3 separate regions of the Homo sapiens genome follow, and all the other regions are linked to region 2. The links are contacts of gene promoters, found by promoter capture Hi-C in blood cells and fetal thymus (Javierre and others, 2016). All regions are on one chromosome and are shown on one strand. Each heading gives the region's core, a stretch centred on a gene start or on the middle of the fragment in contact. The rest is flanking DNA. Distances are from core to core; before and after follow the strand shown. Region 1 overlaps MCPH1-AS1 (MCPH1 antisense RNA 1). Region 2 holds the start of ANGPT2 (angiopoietin 2). Region 3 overlaps MCPH1 (microcephalin 1).

Region 1 (4,009 bases), core at 629-3,128, 100 kb before region 2:
TTATTGTCTGTTGGGCTGTTATTCTGCTTCTTAGGACCTTTTTCTTATAATAGTTTTGTATGGGATTTGACTTGGATATTTTCTGTTGCTTATTTTTATGGGAAATTCATTTGCCTGAGCCTTTAGGATGTGGCTGGGTGTAGGAGTGCTCTTTTACCTTTGCGGGGCTCCCTCTTCTGCTGTTTTTGGTAATGTCCAAAAGCAGCATGGCATCCTGTCTTGAGTTTTCCTGCATCTTTTTCTCAAAGCCTCTTTCATCAACACCAGGAGACAGAAATCAAACTCTGGCCCACCACCAGTTTTGTATAGCCTGTGCATTAAAAATGCTTTTTACATTTTTAAATGGTTGAAACAAACAAACAAAGAATACTATTTTGTCACACGTGAAAATTGTGTACAATGCAAACTTCAGTGTTCATAAATAAAGTTTTTTTGGCACACAGCCATGCCCATTCATTTACATGTCATGTGTGGCTGCTTTTACCTTATAACCGCAGGGCCGAGTAGTAGCAGCAAGACCGTCTGGACTTCAAAGCCTACGATGTTTACTATCTGGTTCATAACAGAGGGATTTGTTGGCCTGGTGTGGACCTTCTTTTTCTCTTGTCTCTGTCATGCCTGTCTTGATTGATTTTGATTCTACTCCCAGGAATTTCTCCTCGGGGTAGGGCCCTGGCCCAGACAGGCACTCAGATGGGTCAGTTTTGAGAGTTCATGGGAGATAGAGAGCTCCAGACTCTTGGGCCCTTCCAGCTGTGGGTCCCTTGCTCTCGATTATATGCAGTTGCATTGGGCAAAACCCAAGCGCTTTCGTCCAGTTGGCCCTGCTGGGCTTCCTGGTAATACAGAGCAAAAGATGGAGAATAACCTTGAGCTGTGTGGTATTCTGCTGTTCCCAGAGCTGTCTGCTGCTGCCTGGAGTTTCCTTCTTCCACCCATGCAGAACCTGGAACCTCATGGGGCTCGTGGCTGGCAGTAATTTGCCCCTTGTAAGGAGCTCATAAGGTGCCCTTGGCTTAGGTTTGCTACCCAGGCCATCTATTTTTATGTGGGGACCTAAAACGTTTTAAACAATATTAAATTCTAAGTTTAAAAAATTTTTTCTGTAAGTTCTATCTGCCTCCTTTTCAATTCCATCTTATCATTCTTGTTCCGTTCTCATGGTTTTCCGTCCTTTTATTTCTTTTAACATGTATCATCCGTATCTGATGACGCCAACACCTGAAGTCTTGGTCTATCTGGTCCTGTTATTTTTCCTAATGATTGTCTTGATGATTTATTTGGAATTGTGTGTGTGCACGCATTCTAATTGATGGTCATATTGGTGGGAATCATCAGAAGCCCAGGTTCAGGGACATTATTCCTGGAAGTTGTGTGTCTGCTTCTTCCAGGTGCCTAAGGATGTTGCTGACAAAGGATGTTGCTTTGTGTTTGCCTTTGTGCAGATGTTATCCTTCTCCCTTCTTAACTTTCTTCCTGGGAGTCTAACCCTTCCAGAGTGTCAGCTTTATCAGGTTGGTCTCCATTCCAACTCCCCTGTCCCGGCCCACCTCCCATACACACACACATGAATGCACATATACACACATGCACACACACGCAGATGCACACACGCCCTGTGTATACACAATGCTCGGTCAACATGATGTTCCCCAGCTTGGATGTCAACCTGCTTCTCCACCTTGTCTCCAGTGGTAGAGCGTTTCTCTACCTTTCTTGCAAATTCCCTACCATTCACTCTGCATTTTCAGGGGTCCATTATAATGTTCATTATATTGCTGCAAACATAAGTCACTGATTTACTTTCTTGGATAACACAAATGGCTCAGTTTAGAAGTCTGATGATTACATTCTAGAATGTTTAATATGCCTAAAATGTGGTTATAAAGTGGTGGGCTTTGCCTTTAATTGGCCCTCCAACATTTCTCTGTTGAACACCTTTAGCAACAAGAACTTGGCTTCTTTGTGTCCATGGAGGGCACGCTCTGGGCCGGCTGAAGCACCAAGCACCTTTTCCCTTTAGCTGAAGGAGCTGGTTCCCGTGAGGATGTGGATCCTCCCAAGACTGCTGACACTTTATGCCTGAGTCCAAGACTCATCCAGATTGACTCTGTCCCCCTGCTCCTCCTGCGTAGCCACTCAGGCAGCAAATAATTTCATTTCCAAAATTTCATTTCTAATCCACCTCCTCCTTTCCCTCTCTGTGAGCACTGTGTTCTGCGCCTTAACATTTCTTGTCTGGAAAATTTCAATAGCCTTTCTTAACTACCCAACGCTTATATCTCACTTGCGTCCCCTCAACGTGCCCTTCCACTGGAAGTTCCAGCAATCCTGAGGCCCTCAGACCTCCCCTCACCTTCGGGACTGGCACGGGCCTCTCCCTTGGTCTCTTTTCCACTCGGAACTCCTATGCTTCCTTTGAAACCTATGTTAGAGAGTCAGGCATGGTGGCATGCACCTGTAGTTGCAGCCACTCAGGAGGCTGAGGGAGGAGGATCGCTTGAGTGCAGGAATTCAGGGCTGCAGTGAGCTATGACCATGCCTCTGAATAGCCACTGCACTGCAGCCTGTGCAACGCAGTGAGACCCCACCTAAAAAAAAAGAAAACTCACCTAAGTTAGATGTCAGTTTCTTCTGGAAGTATTTCCCAAGCTCTTTTCCTTTCCGTTTAAAAGCAATCACCCTTTCTCAAAGTTGTCGCTCTCCCTGGTCTGCAGTGAACTTATCACACTGTGTTGTCATTTGTTTTCCAGCCTCATCCCCCTTCAAGGCTGTCAGCTCGCTGAGATAGGTGCTGTATCTTCATTATTTCTGGCCCTTGGAGCCTGTACAGTCATTGATACAGAAGAGCTGCCCAATAGAGTTCTTACAAATTTTGGCTATTTCTGTTTGGTGTGAATCAAACTCCAGCACTTGTTGGAAGGTGAGTGGAGGCAGGGAGAGGGCACCACAAGCCCTGTGAATCCAGGGTAGGAAAAGCAGGTGGAGATGAGGCCTTCAATAGATGAAGCTGCAAAGTTACTGCTTTGAACAGAAATGTGGAAAAGATCCTCATATCTTAAAAATAGTATCCCTTTGCTTCTGGTGACAGGCTAACTTCGGTGGGTCCATCAGCATTAGGGACCATGGGGGTCATTTCACCAAATCTCTTTGCTCCTTTGTTGAAGAAGTTAAACTCCTCAAGCTCAGATATGTTATGTGCTTAAAGTCTAATTTGGGCTCCAAGGATATTATAAAGTAGCCCCTGAATCTAATAAATCTTTAAAAAGGGGTGGTGTGGGAATTGCTCAAGAAAAGCAAAGTGCCGAAGAGTTAAAAATATCAGAATTCCTCCGTAAGTCTCTAACCGCTGCTCCACAATCTCTTCTGGGCTCTGAAGCCACAAGATGAGGTGACAGTCTTTTCCTCACCCCTAAAAAGGAGGTCAGTTTTGAGCCCGTTACCTCCTACTGTGCCATCAGCCCTTTCCCCACACAGCATCCCCAGTTGTTTTTGGAAGGAACCTTGTGGCATCGTGTGAGTCACAGCCCTGCGGCTCCTACCATCACAGCCTCACACACTCAGGACAAAGAGTCCTTCTCTTTTCTGTGACCAGTTCCCAATAAGTTCATGGTCGGGTTTCTCGCCATTGGTTGAGTACATTATCTGGCTGATAACTGGCTCTTGGTGCCAAGCTCTGAGGTCTGGCAGTGTCTCCCTTCCCGCCCTCCCAGGGCCCCTGGGGCGGCCGTGGGCCGACGGAGCTGCTGCTGTTGCCCGTTGTTCTCATCTCGCTGTTGACAGACAACAGCCCTAGAGAGCCCAGGATGGCGTTCCTCCCCTCGAGTGCTCCCTCCTCAGCGTTGGCTGAGGTTTCATTGGCTGGCTCACGGGAGACAATACTGAATTAGCTTTTTCAGTAAATCGTCTATCTGGAATATTAAAGATGGAACAACTATGAGTTCCCATAGATAAGCTGTAATCCAAATATTAAAAAAATTGAAACCAGATTAATGAAATTGACAGCTGC
Region 2 (4,110 bases), core at 1,351-3,850:
CATGGCATATTGTGCACCCGGAAGCATCACTGTCTTTCTTTGTGCTCCGACTGCTCTCTCTTACCACATCCAATTTGTTTATGGGTCTCTCCCTCTCCATACACTATTAGCTTCTTTAGGTCAGACACCCAGTTGCCTTAATCTCTATCCCCAGTGCATAGCATGGTGTCTGACACAAGGCTGGTAGACAAAAAGTACTGTGGTGTGCCCTCTTTCTATTTGTTCCTTTTAAACTACTCTATTTGCCTGGAAGACAACTGAATGACTTTTAAAACCATATATGCAGGCCAGGTACAGTGGCTCACACCTGTGATCCCAGCACTTTGGGAGGCCAAGCAAGAGGATCATTGGATGCCAGGAGTTCAAGACCAGCCTGGGCAACAAGAGTGAGACCCCGTCTCTACAAAAAATAATCTTGAAAAAAGGTAAAACCACATATGTGATATTAATACCTTACAATATGCTTTTTCAAACAGGAAATAAAAAAATTGTACCCTATGCCACTGCCACTGCTTTGCATTCAGAGAATAGCAGAGTTATACTATTTGATGGTGGAAGAACTGATCCCCATTTAATGGAGCATGCCTGTAAAGAAAAGGAACAAATATTTCTAAACATACAATTATATCTTAATCCTAAAAACCCTACAGAGAAAAAATGATCTCCATCTTATGACTAGGGAGACTGAGGCTCCAAGAATGGAAGCATTTGCTGGAGGTCACACAGAAGCAGGGTTCTAACACAGGTCTCATCTTTAAGACCTATATGCTTTCTTCGACGGTGCACTGTCCGGATGGGTATAGCATCTTTAATTGGTTCCCTTAGTGGAAACCATGTCCAGAACCTTGGTGGAATCATACTACCTCTTCTACTAATGAGATCCTTCCAGAGCATGTCTTCCAGCTTTTCTGTGTGACAGAACCCTTTGGTTGTCTGGTGAAGCCTATAAACACCTTCTCAAAAGAAGACACATGCTACTTTATTCCAATGTTCAGTAGCAAGATCTAGGGCTGGGTTTAATAAAAATGTAGTTCTGAGTATTGTGGCAGCAAATAAAAAGAGCTGATTTCTGAGGATGAGAAAGTCACAGATATTCACACTGTTGTTCGTTAACTATTCATTGATAAGGGAAAGGCTGTCTTTCGGTTAGAGCTTAGTAAAAAATAAAGATCTTTTATGGGTAGATGTGGTCTGTTAAGTCAGTGTACCAGCTATTCAGCGCTCACTGGGAATAATAAACCTTGTACCTTGAGAGATAAACCGCAGCAAAGGCAGGGGGCTTTTTCCCTATGTACACTTGGGCTGCTGAGTTAACATATTATTAATCTCTGAAGTATTAAGTTTTAGTTGTTAAAGGAAGTGACTTGCAGAACTTACAGAGCCATAGGATTGAAGGTGAAAAATCTTGTGAGTGCACCCCTTGAATTGCACAGATGAGGACATTAGAGCTTAATTAAAACAGGGAAGTGACTTGCCCGAGTCTAATACCAAGGGGGACTAATGTAATTGATAATGTGTTACAAAATGCTGAGATGTCAACAAATTCTGACACAATAAAGAAGTTTGTGGGCCAGGCATGGTGACTCACACCTGTAATCTCAGCACTTTGGGAGGCCAAAGGCGAGTCGATCACAAGGTCATGAGTTTGAGACCAGCCTAACATGGTGAAACCCTGTCTCTACTAAAAATACAAAAATTAGCCGGGTGTGGTGGCGTTTGCCTGTAATCCCAGCTGCTCAGGAGCCTGAGGCAAGAGAATCACTTGAACCCGGAAGGCGGAGGTTGCAGTGAGCCAACATTGCCCCACTGCACTCTAGCCTGGTCGACAGAGCGAGACTCCGTCTCAAAAAAAAAAAAAAAAAAAAAAAGTTTGTATTCCTCTTTCTACACAGGCACTTAAATTCTAATTTCTCTATTGTAATGTAATGAACTTAATCAGTACAGTGTATTTTTAGAGTGAATATCCAAGTGGAGTTTTTTTAAAGAATAAAGGTCAGAGCTCAGAAACTGATGTTTCTAACGTGACTTAATAACAGATCTTTCTATCCAACTGTTCGGAAATGAAAATCTTTTGTAACTTGGCTAGTGGTTCAAGAATCAACTAAAATCAATGAATCTATTTTTCCCTCTGAAAAGGCACACGTTTACAGGAGCCAAACTTCTTCCTCTTTATTTGTAATAACAAAAATAAACCGAAGTCCTGACCTATTTGTAATATTTTTATTCCTAAAGGAAAAAACAGGAACTTTCATTGTACTTCAACATTAAAGTTATTACCTCAGATATTTTGCCAGCTTAGCACGGCAAAAATCAGTTTCAGACAAAAGAGATCAACTGCTCTCTCTAGGAAATACTTAATTGGGGTGGTGCCTAGGAAATGCCCAGGGGTCCTGTAACAGATCGGTTTTTCCCAGAGGGTTTCTGCAGCATGGGTCCTGGTTGGAGGGCAGGCATTCTGCTCTGATTTTTCCTGTTGCCTGGCTAGTGACCCCCTACAGGAAGATAACGGCTAAGCCAGGAGGGCGGAGCAGCCCACTACACATGTCTGGCTGCTCTTATCAACTTATCATATAAGGAAAGGAAAGTGATTGATTCGGATACTGACACTGTAGGATCTGGGGAGAGAGGAACAAAGGACCGTGAAAGCTGCTCTGTAAAAGCTGACACAGCCCTCCCAAGTGAGCAGGACTGTTCTTCCCACTGCAATCTGACAGTTTACTGCATGCCTGGAGAGAACACAGCAGTAAAAACCAGGTTTGCTACTGGAAAAAGAGGAAAGAGAAGACTTTCATTGACGGACCCAGCCATGGCAGCGTAGCAGCCCTGCGTTTTAGACGGCAGCAGCTCGGGACTCTGGACGTGTGTTTGCCCTCAAGTTTGCTAAGCTGCTGGTTTATTACTGAAGAAAGAATGTGGCAGATTGTTTTCTTTACTCTGAGCTGTGATCTTGTCTTGGCCGCAGCCTATAACAACTTTCGGAAGAGCATGGACAGCATAGGAAAGAAGCAATATCAGGTCCAGCATGGGTCCTGCAGCTACACTTTCCTCCTGCCAGAGATGGACAACTGCCGCTCTTCCTCCAGCCCCTACGTGTCCAATGCTGTGCAGAGGGACGCGCCGCTCGAATACGATGACTCGGTGCAGAGGCTGCAAGTGCTGGAGAACATCATGGAAAACAACACTCAGTGGCTAATGAAGGTAGGAAAAAAATCCATCTGTCTTTGTGAACATGCTATTAAGATCAGCTTGGCAGCAGCTCAGGTTTTAACAACCAAAAAAAAAAAAAAAAAAAGAAGGAGGATGAAGAGGATTAGAGCTGGAGAGCGGGTTGCTGGTACCCTCAAATGAAAGATAATTTCTTTTATTCTATCCCAGGGTGTGTGGGTAGTCCCCGGGGTGAAAATAATTATTTGGAAAGAATGCCAGAGTCAATACAGAAAATCTCTAAAGTTAGAAATCTTTATTAACAAGGTAGAGGAAATATACTTCCCTGCACAACTTGTGTGCCGTTCTGTTTGTTTACATCGTTTAAGCTCAGTAACACCCATCACCAGGGAGGCTCTCAGCTGGTTGCAGGCAAGTGAGGGAAGGCTGTGAGCCGCAGCAGCCCGTGAGCCAGAGAGACCGTGACAACCATGCTGATGACCGAGGCATAACGGATGGAGTAAAGTGCTTTACCAATTTCCTGAATTTATTTACTAAAATAGGTTGTGACTCTTGGTAAACGAGAGGAAATTAAATAAAGCAGACCTTATGTTTCTCAGAATCTCAGGGCCCTACCACTAAGGGCTTGCCGTCTGTAAACAGGGGCACAGTTCCCAAGCGTCCCAGAGGTATTCAGCACTGCAGCCCCCGTCAGTTCCAGCAACCGGTGCGGAATGCGTCCCCACGTGGGACGGTTATGTTCAAGTCATGCCACGACAGGACGGTCTGTCTGACAGTTTGTTCTTGGGGTGATTCCACTGTTTCACAGATGATCCCACTGTTTCCTAGAGTTTTTATGGAGACGTAACCAAAATAGGATATTGAAAGCTCTGTTTTTCTTTCATAAATAATTTTTTTTCACATGTAAACATGGGAGCTATTTATACAAAATCCAAAACGAACCTG
Region 3 (3,978 bases), core at 447-2,946, 120 kb after region 2:
GCATCTGCCCGTCACTGTGCTATAAGCTACTGGAATGAATATGAAGAAGTCTCTAGTCCCGTGCTGGCTCCCTCAATAGGGGCTCAGCACTTGCTGGTGGAGGGCCTGTGTTTTGTAGAAATCACTCAATCTGGAGGTCACGTAAGTGTTAGAACTCTCTGTCTGAAATCACTGAAGTTCTACTTTAAAAAGGAAGAACACAGGTAACCACCAAAGCTTCCCTTCCAACTGTGCCCCAGGTGTCTTCAAGGCAGTAGTTGGAAATAAGGTCACTTTTAATTTTAGATGCTCAATATATCTTATTCAGCACCTAAAATTGTTTTATGTTTTATCACACTTTTCAAAAACCCGATAAGCAATGTGACATGTCACTAAGAGTGTAATCTGTGATGTCAGACTGCCTAAGTTAGAAGCTTGGGTTTGCCATTCACAAACCACATGACCTTGGACAAGCTGTTTGACCTCTGTGTCCTGGTTTTTCACTGGCAAAATGGGATGGTGATGGAACCTACCTCTTAAGGCTAATGGGAGAATAAATGAGATAACAGTGAATAAGACACTTAGAGGAGTGCCTACAACAACAAAAATGAAATCAATGTTAGCTATTATTATCACTTGTTTCCAACTTCTAGGAAATAAATGTAACAAGTGTAAAATAAAAAGATGGAGACTGTTTAAGAGAAATGGGTAAATAATTCCAGCACACAGAGGTGAGAGTACAAGGATTAACCCTGCGCTGAAAGGAGGCTTTGTTTGAAACTTCTAATATCTTGATGCCATCTTGCGCTTTGTCATTGCTGTGGCTTTCATGATAAATTTTCCATAACATCTCAAGCACTTTTGAACATAGTACTTTCAGGGATCACTGCTACTTACTTGAGCCCCACTGGGGACTAGGTGAAGAAACTGTAAGAAATTTGGTACGAAGAAGATATGACCATGAAAAATTACCATCCTAAGTGGAACTAGGGCTCCCACATTACAAACATGTATGTGCGTAACATGGAACTAACTGCACTAATTCCTACCAGTGTTCTTTCTGCTTCTAATTAGAAATCCTCTATTTATCTCCTCAATTGACGATCTTTACATACTTCACTGACCCCGTTCAATAACAGGTTCCTTGTGTTAATTATACATTGTGTGAAACAACATTTCCTTAGCTCTGACCTCAGTTCTATGTAGTTTAAACTGCATACAGATTAGTTCATATACGTTCACAATAATTTTTTAAATAGAGCAATGGATTCTGTAGCAAGAAAGCAAATGCCTAGGAAAAAAAACCTATAGGAACCAAAAAGGAAGTTTAACTCATGCCTTAATTTTATTATAATACCTAATTTCAGGGGGAAATTTAGAAGTTCTAGTTTTAACTAATTATTTTACTCATCAGAAGTTGCTACATGAAATTCTAAATCAGAAAATCATATTATTCTCAAAACTTAAACATATCACAGAAAGGAAAATAAAAATTTTACCTGAACACAAAGTATCACGTGAAATGTTCAAAGGTGCTTCACACAGAGAGTTACTTGGATTATCATGAGACTGCTGAATCATTTGGGAAGCTAAAAACAGGACCAAGACACTGCATTAGATAAAGTTTCAGTATTTCTTAGCAGATGAAGCCAGCAGGAAGTCCTCCTATTAATCATAGGTGATTCTATTAAATCCTATAATCACAAAGTTAGAAGGGATCTTAAAGTCAACTTGCCTGAATCTAATCAGAAGCTCAACAGAATTAAGTGAACATTTCCAGTCTGTTCTAGTCTTCTTATTTGATAATCATGGATTTTTCTTCAAGGATGCTCATCATAGTTACCTCTAAAACTAGAGCACTGCTTCCCAACCAGAGGTGACGTTGGGGTCCCAGCAGATATTTGGTAATGTCTGGACACATTTTTGGATATCGCCAGTGAGGGAGAGCAGTAGGTACACTGCTAGTGTTAGTGGGGAGAGGCAGGGATGCTGCTGAGCTTCCTACCACACACAGGGCAGTGCCCCCAACAAAGAATTACCCAGACCCAAATGTCAGCTGTGCTGGGTTGAGAAATCCTAGAGGTTTCATAGAAAACACTTAGGATGTCAATGACTTAACAAATAAGATCGTAAGTATTATCTTCAAAGGCGGTTCATACAATAGTCAAGAAACAAAAGAAATGTTTGGATCTTATATCCAAAGATATTTTTTAGAGACTCAAAAGGATACTTTTCTGAGAAAACTTCAGCAAAAAAAGAGAATAAACCAAGATAAGGAAGGGAAGCACACATAAAATTTTCAGTTAAGTTTTAAACTGTACTGGACGCAGTAAAGTAGCAGAATTAACACTGCCAAGTAATAGAAAAAGTAAAGTTTAAGGCAAATTAGTTTATACACATAATTGCACACTGAAACAATTTGGATGTCCACCTGGGACACAGCTAGTTATCTACCTCAATGTCCATTCTCACTTCTTCTTAACAACAGAACTTTGATTTTATCAGGACAGCAATGCATCCCAGTCAAGACTACATTTCAGTCTTGCTTGCAAAAGGGGTGGCCATATGACCACATTCCAGCCAATGGAATTAGACAGGAATATTGGATAGACGTCTGGTAAGGCTGTCAAAAGGAGATGGCTTAGCTGGGAGGCACACACATTTTGCAAGAAAAGCCAGGCAGGTACAACAGAAAGATGGGAACCTAGTTTCTTAAAGACACCATGGAATGGCATCCCAGCCCTGGCTGCCTACTTCTGAACTAGGCAAGACAGAGAAAGGCAATTCTATCGATTGTAACACATTGGTTTTTGTCTTTGTTATATGCAGCCGAAACTAACCTTAACTGATACATATGGACAAAGGACATAAAATTAAGCGAGGTAATAGTTGATCACATTAAAAGCTGCATTCGGTAAGTCAGTCAGTAATATGAAAAGGCACTTAAACCTGCTTCTAATCAAAAGTAACTTCAAGAACAGATCCAGTTTTTCAAGCTTCCGACTGAAAAAGGCTACAGGCTAATGCCATTCAGTTTTCCAAGTATGGAGAAAGGGGCATTCTTATAAACAACTGGTGACAATAAGATGACTCAAATTTTTTGAAGGATAATTTGACTATATCTATCAATAAGCCAGGGATCGTGGCACACACCTGTATTCCTAGCTACTTGAGAGGGTGAGGCAGAAGTACTTGAGCCCAGGAGTGCATGTCCTGCCTGCGCAACACAGGGAGACTCTATGTCTTTAAAAAATCAAATTCTGCATGTATGAATTAGTATTATTGAAATACACGAAGTACTCAGAAATACAAGGATTCACGTAGGCACATGCAGGGGTTATAACAGTAAAAAGTCGGGGTGGGAAGCTGGAAAGACTTATGTCTAGAGAAAGGAAAATGGCTTAACAAAAAAACAAGAACAACCAAACCATATGGTTAAAAAAAGAATAAAAACTGCAACACAATTTCTAATAACTGGGAAAAAAATACCCACCAATAGATTTTCAATATCAAAACTGTAGACTACTTTGAGCATCTTAAAACAAAAATAGGTCTACAACAACTAAGCTGCAAACAAACCCTCCAGGATACTCTTAAGTAAATAAAGCGGATAATAATACATATGTCATTATCTAATTTAGGTAAAACAGAAATTACACCTCCACACAGAAACCAAACCCGTATCTTTTTCATGTATACACAGATATCTGATACACTGAAACAGATCTGGAAAAACACTTAAACTTAAAATACAGGTTACCCCCAGGTAGAAGAGTACAATTAGATGGGTATCAAGATGAACTTTTACTATTAGCTACTTTGATAAATGTTTTATTAAAATGTGAATTACACTTCAGTAATTAAAAATTTTAAAGATAAAAGAAATAATGAAAAACAAACTGATTCCTTAGATACATTAATCTAAAGCAAATTCCTTCAAAAGACATGATTCACGGCCAGGAGCGGTGGCTCACGCCTGGATTACAGTCCCAGCCGTTT

The links. The method cuts DNA at HindIII sites, captures the fragments that hold promoters and counts their contacts. A CHiCAGO score of 5 or more calls a contact.
Region 1: a fragment that was not itself captured here is called in contact with the fragment with the promoter of ANGPT2 in region 2 in 5 of 17 cell types (naive B cells, total B cells, endothelial precursors and 2 more); the score reaches 9.6 in naive B cells.
Region 3: a contact is called between a fragment that was not itself captured here and the fragment with the promoter of ANGPT2 in region 2, in 12 of 17 cell types (naive B cells, total B cells, fetal thymus and 9 more). The highest score is 22.5, in naive B cells.

The regions. Positions count from the first base shown.
Region 1 is chr8:6,661,320-6,665,328 of GRCh38, reverse strand. The region is part of intron 1 of MCPH1-AS1 (MCPH1 antisense RNA 1); the gene reads left to right. Among named protein-coding and RNA genes, the nearest start is that of MIR8055, 41 kb to the right of the region's middle. RefSeq lists an enhancer at 15-94 and a silencer at 455-504. The HindIII fragment of the contact is 8,157 bases long and covers 1-4,009 here.
Region 2 is chr8:6,561,735-6,565,844 of GRCh38, reverse strand. It overlaps ANGPT2 (angiopoietin 2), which reads left to right and starts at 2,600. Exons shown (of 9, transcript NM_001118887.2): 1 at 2,600-3,198. The coding sequence starts at 2,911. All of the region lies in intron 12 of MCPH1 (microcephalin 1), which reads right to left. RefSeq lists enhancers at 2,731-3,257, 3,258-3,783. The HindIII fragment of the contact is 4,979 bases long and covers 1-4,110 here.
Region 3 is chr8:6,439,657-6,443,634 of GRCh38, reverse strand. It overlaps MCPH1 (microcephalin 1), which reads right to left. Exons shown (of 14, transcript NM_024596.5): 7 at 1,479-1,568. Among named protein-coding and RNA genes, the nearest start is that of MCPH1, 35 kb to the right of the region's middle. The HindIII fragment of the contact is 2,562 bases long and covers 416-2,977 here.